Regions from separate parts of the Homo sapiens genome. Here all the other regions are linked to region 2. The links are contacts of gene promoters, found by promoter capture Hi-C in blood cells and fetal thymus (Javierre and others, 2016). All regions are on one chromosome and are shown on one strand. Each heading gives the region's core, a stretch centred on a gene start or on the middle of the fragment in contact. The rest is flanking DNA. Distances are from core to core; before and after follow the strand shown.

Region 1 (2,700 bases), core at 142-2,641, 150 kb after region 2:
TCCTTTGCAATGGAGAGTAGTATTTACAACAAGATCTAGACAGTAAGTACGTTCATTGCAGCTAGGTGTCACTACTTGTTAGGCCATTCAAGTGGGCAAAGCAAGGAAATATATGTGCTCAAGACTCATATATTCAAATTTAATGTAAAACTTTTTTTATCTTTTTTTTTTTTTTTGAGACAGAGTCTCGCTCAGTGCAATCTCAGCTCACTGCAACTTCCGCCTCCTGGGTTCAAGCAATTATCCTGCCTCAGTCTCCCAAGTAGCTGGGACTACAGGTCCATGCCACCACAACCAGCTAATTTTTGCATTTTTTAGTAGAGACCGGGTTTCATCATATTGGCCAGGCTGGTCTCAAACTCCTGACCTCATGATCCACCCGCCTCGGCCTCCCAGTAGGCGTGAGCCACCACACCAGGCCAACTTACTGTATTTTCAAATTTTATTTTCCATTACAGTAAAGTCTTGATTCCCAATAATGTTACTACGCCTACTATTTGCTTTATCATTATAATAGTCATATAACAGTTTAAAATTAAATACTACCATTCCTAAAAACCAATAAATATACCACATAAAGCTTTAGCTGCCTTTGAAAGTCTTCTTCTTAGAATATATTCCACTGAGGGATAGTCAGCCAGAGTCCTGATATCAAAATGTATTTGAATCAATTATTTTTTCTGTGTGGTTATTTAATTTTTATTTATCATCATTATTATTATTTTCAGCTTTTATTTTAGATTCAGCGGATACATATGCAGGTTTGTTACCTGGGTATGTTGTGTGATCCTAAGGTTTGGGGTATGAATGATCCTGTCACCCAAGTACTGAGCATAATATCCAACAGTTCATTTTTCAACCCTTCTCCCCTCCCTGCCTCCTCTAGTACTCCCCAGTTTATATTGTTGCCATCTTTATGTGCACAAGTATCCAGTGTTTAGCTCCCACTTATAAATGGGAAATATGCAGTATCTGGCTTTCTGCTCCTGTGTTAATTTGCTTAGGATAATGCCCTCCAGCTGCATCTATAATATCGCAAAAGACATGATTTCATTATTTTGTTATAGCTGCATAGTATTTCATGGCATATATGTACCACATTTTCTTTGTCTAGTCCACCACTGGGCACCTAGCTTGATTCCATTTCTTGGATACTGTGAATAGTGCTATGAGGAACACATGAGTACATGTGTCTTTTCGGTAGAATGATTAGTTTTCTTTTGGATATATAATCAGTAATTAGATTGTTGGGTTAAATAATAGTTCTAAGTTCTTTGAGAAATCTCCAAACCACTTTCCATGGTGGCTGAATTAATTTACATTCCCATCAACAGTGTATAAGTGTTCCCTTCTCCCCACAGCCTTCCCAACATTTGTTGTTTTTGACTTTTAATAATAGCCATTCTGCATGGTATGAGATAATATCTGTGACTTTGATTTGCATTTCTCTGATGATTTGTAATACGGAGTATTTTTTCATATGTTTGTTGGCCGCTTACATGTTTACTTTTGAGAAGTGTCTGTTTATGTCTTTTGCCTATTTTTAATGGGATTATTTGTTTTTTTGCTTGTTTAATTGTGTAAATTCCTTGTAGATTCTAGATATTAGACTTTTGCCAAATGCATAGTTTGCAAATTTTTCTCCCATTCTGTAGGCTGTTTGTTTACTCTGTCGATAGTTTCTTTCTTTAATTATATCCCACTTGTCAATTTTTGTTTTTGTTGCAATTGCTTTTGAGGACTTAGTCATAAATTCTTTCCTAAGGCCCATGTGCAGAATGGTGTTTCCTAGGTTTTCTTCTAGGATTCTTATAGTTTGAGGTCTTACCTTTAAATCTTTAATCCATCTTAAGTTAATTTTTGTATATGATAAAAAAAATAGGGATCCAGTTTCATTCTTCTGCGTATGGCTAGCCAGGTATCCCAGCACCATTTATTGAATAGGAAGTCTTCTCCCCACTGCTTATTTTTGTCAATTTTGTTGAAGATCGGAGGGCTGTAGGTGTGCAGCTTTATTGCTGGGTTTTTTTATTCTGTTCCATTGGCTTATTGTCTGTTTTTGTACCAGTACCATGCTGTTTTGGTTATTGTAGCCCTATAGTATAGTTTGAAGGTGGATAATGTGATGCCTCCAGCTTTATTCCTTTTGCGTAGGATTGCTTTGGCTATTCAGGCTCTTTTTCGTTCCATATGAATTTTAGAAAAGCTTCCTAGTTGTGTGAAAAATGACATTGATAGCTTGTTGGGAATAGCACTGAATCTGCAGATAGCTTTGGGCAGTATGGCCATTTTAATGATACTGATTCTTCTGATACATGACCATGGAATGTTTTTCTATGTGTTTGTGTCATCTATGATTTGTTTTGTAGTTCTCCTTATAGAGATCTTTTGCCTCCTTGGTTAGATGTGTTCATAGGTATTTTGTTTTTCTGTGGCTATTACAAATGAGATTGCATTCTTGATTTGGCCCTCAACTTGAATGTTATTGATGTGTAGAAATGCTAATAATTTTTTTACATTGACTTTGCATCCTGAAACTTTACTGAAGCCATTTATCAGTTCCAGCAGCCTTTTGGCAGAGTCTTTGGGGTTTTCTAGGTACAGAATCCTGTCATCTACAAAAAGAGATAGTTTGACTTCTTTTCCTATTTGGATGTGTTTCCTTTCTTTCTTTCTCTTGCCTGATTGCTTTGGCTAGCA
Region 2 (2,700 bases), core at 134-2,633:
AGGTACATTAAATCCATCTAAATCGACATTCAAAACACAAATCGCCCTGATTTGTAACCTAAAACTCAATGCAAGTAAAATCTCAATATTCTGATGTTGTTTCTTGTATATCTCATTCAACCACTAAGCCAGATGCAAACAATTTACTTCTCTACAAAATTTATCTTGTAAAAAAGCACGATGGAATACATCTTTAATCAACCTTTAACCATATGCATGTGCGTCTATGCGTTTGCGTTAATTGGGAGAAGTTGAGTGTAGAAATGTACCGAAAGGACTAGAAAATCAAACCAGAGAACTACAAAATGAACTCCAAGAAACGTGGTTTTCAATCCCATCTCTCTCTCACCACCTCCCTCAAAATGTTGTAACATTACAATACCCCTACGTTTGTAATCGATCATTTTTTTTCTATGTCGAATTTGTGGAAAGTAAATTCATTTTATATTAGGTAGCAGACGCATATTCTTTTTTAGGCGATGCAACAACAAAAATCCTGCTTAGCAAACCCAAGATGTCAACGTTCGTTATAAAAAAAAAAAAGTAAGTTCTTCAGTTCAAAACCGAACATGCTAACAAATATTAAAACTTTTTAAGTTTCCCAGGGAAACTGCCGCTGCCTACAAAATTCACATGAAACGCTGACGTTGGAGTTACTGTACTTATCAGTCAGGTTTCCGTGAAATTTGTCAAACCGGCCAGAGCGCTGGTGTCTTGACAATTCCTTACGGGAAAGCCCCTCAGCACCCTCCGGGCTGTGGAGGACCTGATTGGGACCAACAGCCGAGGGGCCCGGAAGGCGGAGGACCGAGAGGCGACGGCCAGGCTGCGTGGCCAAGCTGACGGGGAACCCCGGCCTCCATCTGAGGATACTAAGCGGTTCCGACGCCTTCCCCCGCGGCAGTCGGGACCGGGAGAATCGGACAGAAACCAGCCTCAGAGTCCGGGGCAGGAGCCGTTGACGGCTGCCCCTCAACGCTGCGCTTCGGGTTGGGTTAAGTCCCCAAGGCGTCCTCAGACCACGGCGGGGCTTCAAACGCCCCAGTCCCGAAGACAGGCAGGGGGTCCCTCTGCTGCGCCGGGATGACAGGCTGGCCCCGACGACCCCGGCCCCGTCCCGCAGCCCTCACCCGCTGAAGAGATCGGGGAAACCGAAGAAGGTTCTAGAAAGTCTCCGTGGACGACGGGCGCTGGGCGGCCGCTTACCTTGGTGTACTTAATTTCGAGATTGGGCGTGGGCGACGGCAGGAGGTGCAGCGACGCCATGAGGGCGGCGGGGTCGGCCTTCACCTCGCCGGGCATCTCTATCTTGCTGGAAGTCATGGTGGCGGGCCGGGTGTCCCTAGCCCGCGGCGTGGGGCAGTGCGGGCTGTGCGCGCGGTCCGCGGCCCGGGGGCGCGCTCGCCTGTATATAGGCAGGTGTCAAGCTGGGGCTCTTCTTATTGGACGTGAGGGCCGAGGCGCGGGGGGCTGGTCCATCCTACCTAGGACGCCCGGCGCAGCCTCCATTTACATAAAGCCCGCGCCGCGCGGCCGGGACGCTTGGCGCCCACGGTCAAGTCCGCCCGGCGCTCCCGCCCCCCGGCCGCGGAGACCAGCCCACGCCGCCTCCACAGTCCTCGACGGTGGGAGCGGAACTTGCGCCGCGGCCCGCGGGCCTCGGCCAGCCGGACTTGGTCTCCGGGTCCCTGGGTCAGAGTCGGCGGGAGGCGCACAGCGGCCGAAGTCGAGCGAGGGTCGTGGCCCCCGGAAGCGGAGCTGGCAGGGGCTGGCGGGGACCGGAGCGGCCCGGTGCTGCTTCGGAGTAGAGAAAGGCCAGGAAAGTCCAGGCTGCGGAGGGCGGCTCCCAGCTCGCCCACGTTCCCTCCCATCCCCGTCCCAGGACCCACCGAACCCCGTCCCCCTTCCTTTCCGGAGACCCGGGAGGGCGTCCTCCGTTCTCCTCCTCCGGGCAGGGGCGCCAGGCTCTCGGCAGCTACGCCCTCTCCCCCGACCCCCCGACTCCCCTCAGCCGGGCCGAGGTGCATGGTGGCCAGAGGGTCAGGGAGAGGTGGCAGTGGGTGCGAGTCCCCCTCGCCTCGGGCTCAGAATGAGGATCCCTGCGAGCGGGTCAGCGCGGGGCGGCCCTTGCCAGGCGTCGCCCGCCCAGTTGCTGCCCTCTGCCGGCCGGGACCGCCCGGGCGGCTTGCGCTGTGGCGGGAGGATATGGGCAGTGATCATCCCCGGCTCCTCCGAGGAGCTGCATGCTTCGTGGGCTCCTTTAGTTCTTCTCGGATCCCCTCTTCCGGCTGTTTCCCCTCCTCACCCAGCACACCCACAGAAACACTATTTTGTTTTTCTGTTGTTCCTTACACGCTAAGAGCTATCGTCCCGCCAGACCTTAGGCTCATTTTACTGTCCCTTTGGGATTGAGTTTCCATCTCCCCCCTAATCTAAGTGTTTCCAAAGTCTAACAAGCTGCCCTCTAGTCTGTGGATCGGCCTGCAGGTGTAAACCAAGAACCTAGAGACCCTGCCTCAGAATGGGCTTTGGACTCCGTGGACTAAATCAAGGCCGCATGGAAAGACCTGCATAAGTCCCTTCCCTTCCTTACTCCTCACTCCAAATGTAAGCTTGACAGGGGCCTACAGTGTTGATAAACGCTTTTTCTACACTACCAAGCAACACTGTGATTCTCGTCTTTTTGTTTTGTTTGAAGAG
Region 3 (2,756 bases), core at 127-2,626, 180 kb before region 2:
TCTGTTGGTTCTGTTGAGTTTTTCCAGCTATGTTATAATAGCTGCAAATAATGACATTATCTCTTCACTTCCAATCTTCTTACTTTTTTTTCCCTTTTTATACATTGGCCAGGCCCTCAATTATTATCAACATGCTTGACTTCTTCCCAATCTTAAAGGAACTTTCTCACAGGCTTCCTGAACCCAGAGCCAGCTACACGGACGGCATACAATCTGTACAGACACACAGTCCCCCAGCTTGGTGTCTTGCTGTCACTGTCTTGTGATCATAACAATATTTGGAAAAAAAAGTCCCACATTTTCAGTGTGCATTGCGCACTGCAACTTACATAGCTGGTTCCGTCTAAACAGTCAGTGTGGTTATAAAGCAAAATCTTTAATCAAGAGTCAGCAAAGTGGAATTTCTACTGAGAGGCCTTGCCCTAACTGGCTAGGAAAATGTGTTTTTATTGACATGCCATAGCTGTGTTTTCATTCTTCTTGCTAACTAGACTTCTATATAAATAGACTGGTTTGTCTTTTTTTTTTTTTAAGTCCATGTTAGCATAAATATGTTTTAAGTGACTTTGTGGCTGAGCCTAACACAGAATGGGCCATGAGAACTCACTTTTTCTTATTACTTCAGAAATCCAATCATTCAGATTAGCAGAAGAAGGCACCTAAGATGGTGAGCATGGAAACCATTACAAGAGACAAAGACCTCTCTGACACTTCCCAGGGAAATAGTTATTTTTCCCTTTTCTGGGAAACAAATGGGCTTAACCAAGTACGGCTGCCGTCCCAGTCCTCAGGGCAGTCACACTAAGCTCTGTGCACCCTTTCCCTGTTCCATGTTCATAACATTCCTGTGAAAAGATGCTTCTGGTCCAGGAATTTTGCTTCCTTGAATCTATGGGAAACTGAAGAGGCACTGGCCCATTAATGGTTTCAATGAGGTAAGACAGCGCCTGCCCCAGAGGAAGTACTGAAAGTGGTCAGAACTCCTCCCCCATGAATTAGTTTCCAGGCCCTCCTTTGGAGATTGGCTGTGGGTTGTGGGCCAGCCCCTCCAGGGCTTCTCTTTACGCAAAGGAATTGAGATAGTACTGAAGTCCATTTCTTCTTGGCTGGTCAAAGCATCCCCACCTTTGGCAGAGGGCTGGAAGTTGAAGCAGCGTCTCAAATGAGAAATGAAGGAAAATAAAAACAAACAAAAGCTTCAATCAGCTGACAAGAGTCCATTTGAGACCTCTCTTACAGAGGGGAGTCATCTCTACATCTGGCAGTTCTAGAACAAAGACTGTGTGCCTTCGAGGGGAATTGAGAATGGGGTATGCGCAGCCCAGAAACGAGCATGAGGGGATGTGGTACAAAAGGGACCCACATATCTGTGGCCTGCAGAGGGTAGAACCAGGGGCTGAGTTTCAGCTCAGTAGAGAGCAACTTTCTACCTAGGGCCCAGTTGAAGCCCAGCTATTCGTATGGTAAAAGTGTAGGCGTGTTTGGTGACATTCAGACTTTTTCAGTTGAAATATAACAAATATTCAAAAAGTGCACATATAAGAGAACAGCCCTTTGAAGCTTTACAAACTCTACACACCTTTGTATCTAGCACCAAGATTGCAAGCAGCTCCCCAACAAGTCCCTGTGCTTTCTCCCAGTCAAGATCCCCTTGCAAGGTGGACCCTCATTCCAGCTTCAGGGATTCCCTGGCTTCACTCATTCTGTACTTTATAGAAATGGAGTGAGACCCTTGATCTTTGTTTTGGTCTGGCTTCCTTGGCTCACTTGCATATGTGAGATTCAGCCACATTGCTGCTGGTATCTGTAGGTGATACATTCTTGTTATGTGAATATAGTAGTGATTATGTGTCCAGTCTACTACTGATGGGGATTTGGGTGGTTTTTGATTTGGAGCCATTATGAACACTCTGCTGTGGGTAATTGGTGAGTATATACACACTTATTTCTCTTAGTCATATACCTAGGAGTGGAATTGCTGCATCATAGGGTGTGCATACATCGAGTTTTAGTAAATACTGCCGACAGCTTTCCAGTGTATATACCAATTTACATTCCCACCAGAAGTGTGGGAGTTCTGAGGCTTTATAACCTCCAAAATGCTTTTCACGTTTGCCACATGACATATGCCATGTGGCCATTAGAGATACCTGCATGTCAGGTAAGCCCATGCTCCTTCTTTGCAGTCATTAACACCATGCAGGAGTGAATTCCCTTGGAGCTTTTTCTGAGAGATTTTGACAACAGTCAGGATCAGAGCAGAACAGTGCACACTTGCTGGCAGGGAAAGGAGACTGGAATGGCAGGTGGGCTGGAGGGTTGCTCTTGCCCGCCAGCACCTCAGCTATGGCCTGCAGGTTAAGCTCCTTCTGCTGTCTGGTCTGTGCCTGGCCTCAGCTGTCGCCCTGTGAGAATCACAGGTTTGGCACTTGTCCCTAAGGCTTTGCTTGGCCACTGAGCAGAGACCCAGTCCGCAACATTCTCTGGGGAGGAAGAGAGAGCAGTGTTGATGTCCCCAGTCTCCAGGGGAAGAGTGGAGCCCCCAGCCATGAAGCCCCTCATCAGCTTCTCTGTCCTGGTCCACAGCCTCATCTCCCCACAACCTACCCCCCAACTTTCTTCTCTACTTTTCTCCAAAAGGGGAATTATTTTGCACATTTTCTTTCCAAGTCCAAAAATAGGAAAGAGAAGGGAACAGCTAATCTGGTCCAGCTGCTGGTTTTGCTACTTAACAAAGATATTTTTTACAGTAATTT

Evidence for each region. Contacts are between HindIII fragments. The CHiCAGO score rates a contact against its expected background, and 5 or more counts as called.
Region 1: a contact is called between a fragment that was not itself captured here and the fragment with the promoter of ALDH1A2 in region 2, in 2 of 17 cell types (M2 macrophages and M0 macrophages). The highest score is 6.1, in M2 macrophages.
Region 3: a fragment that was not itself captured here is called in contact with the fragment with the promoter of ALDH1A2 in region 2 in 1 of 17 cell types (endothelial precursors); the score reaches 6.8 in endothelial precursors.

What each region holds. Positions count from the first base shown.
Region 1 is chr15:58,217,608-58,220,307 of GRCh38, forward strand. No RefSeq gene overlaps it. Among named protein-coding and RNA genes, the nearest start is that of AQP9, 81 kb to the left of the region's middle. The HindIII fragment of the contact is 1,626 bases long and covers 579-2,204 here.
Region 2 is chr15:58,064,328-58,067,027 of GRCh38, forward strand. It overlaps ALDH1A2 (aldehyde dehydrogenase 1 family member A2), which reads right to left and starts at 1,384. Exons shown (of 13, transcript NM_003888.4): 1 at 1,207-1,384. The coding sequence starts at 1,323. It overlaps ALDH1A2-AS1 (ALDH1A2 antisense RNA 1), which reads left to right and starts at 898. Exons shown (of 3, transcript NR_147215.1): 1 at 898-1,415; 2 at 2,488-2,607. RefSeq lists enhancers at 402-921, 922-1,441 and a silencer at 2,050-2,239. The HindIII fragment of the contact is 8,256 bases long and covers 1-2,610 here.
Region 3 is chr15:57,881,160-57,883,915 of GRCh38, forward strand. No RefSeq gene overlaps it. Among named protein-coding and RNA genes, the nearest start is that of POLR2M, 180 kb to the left of the region's middle. The HindIII fragment of the contact is 364 bases long and covers 1,195-1,558 here.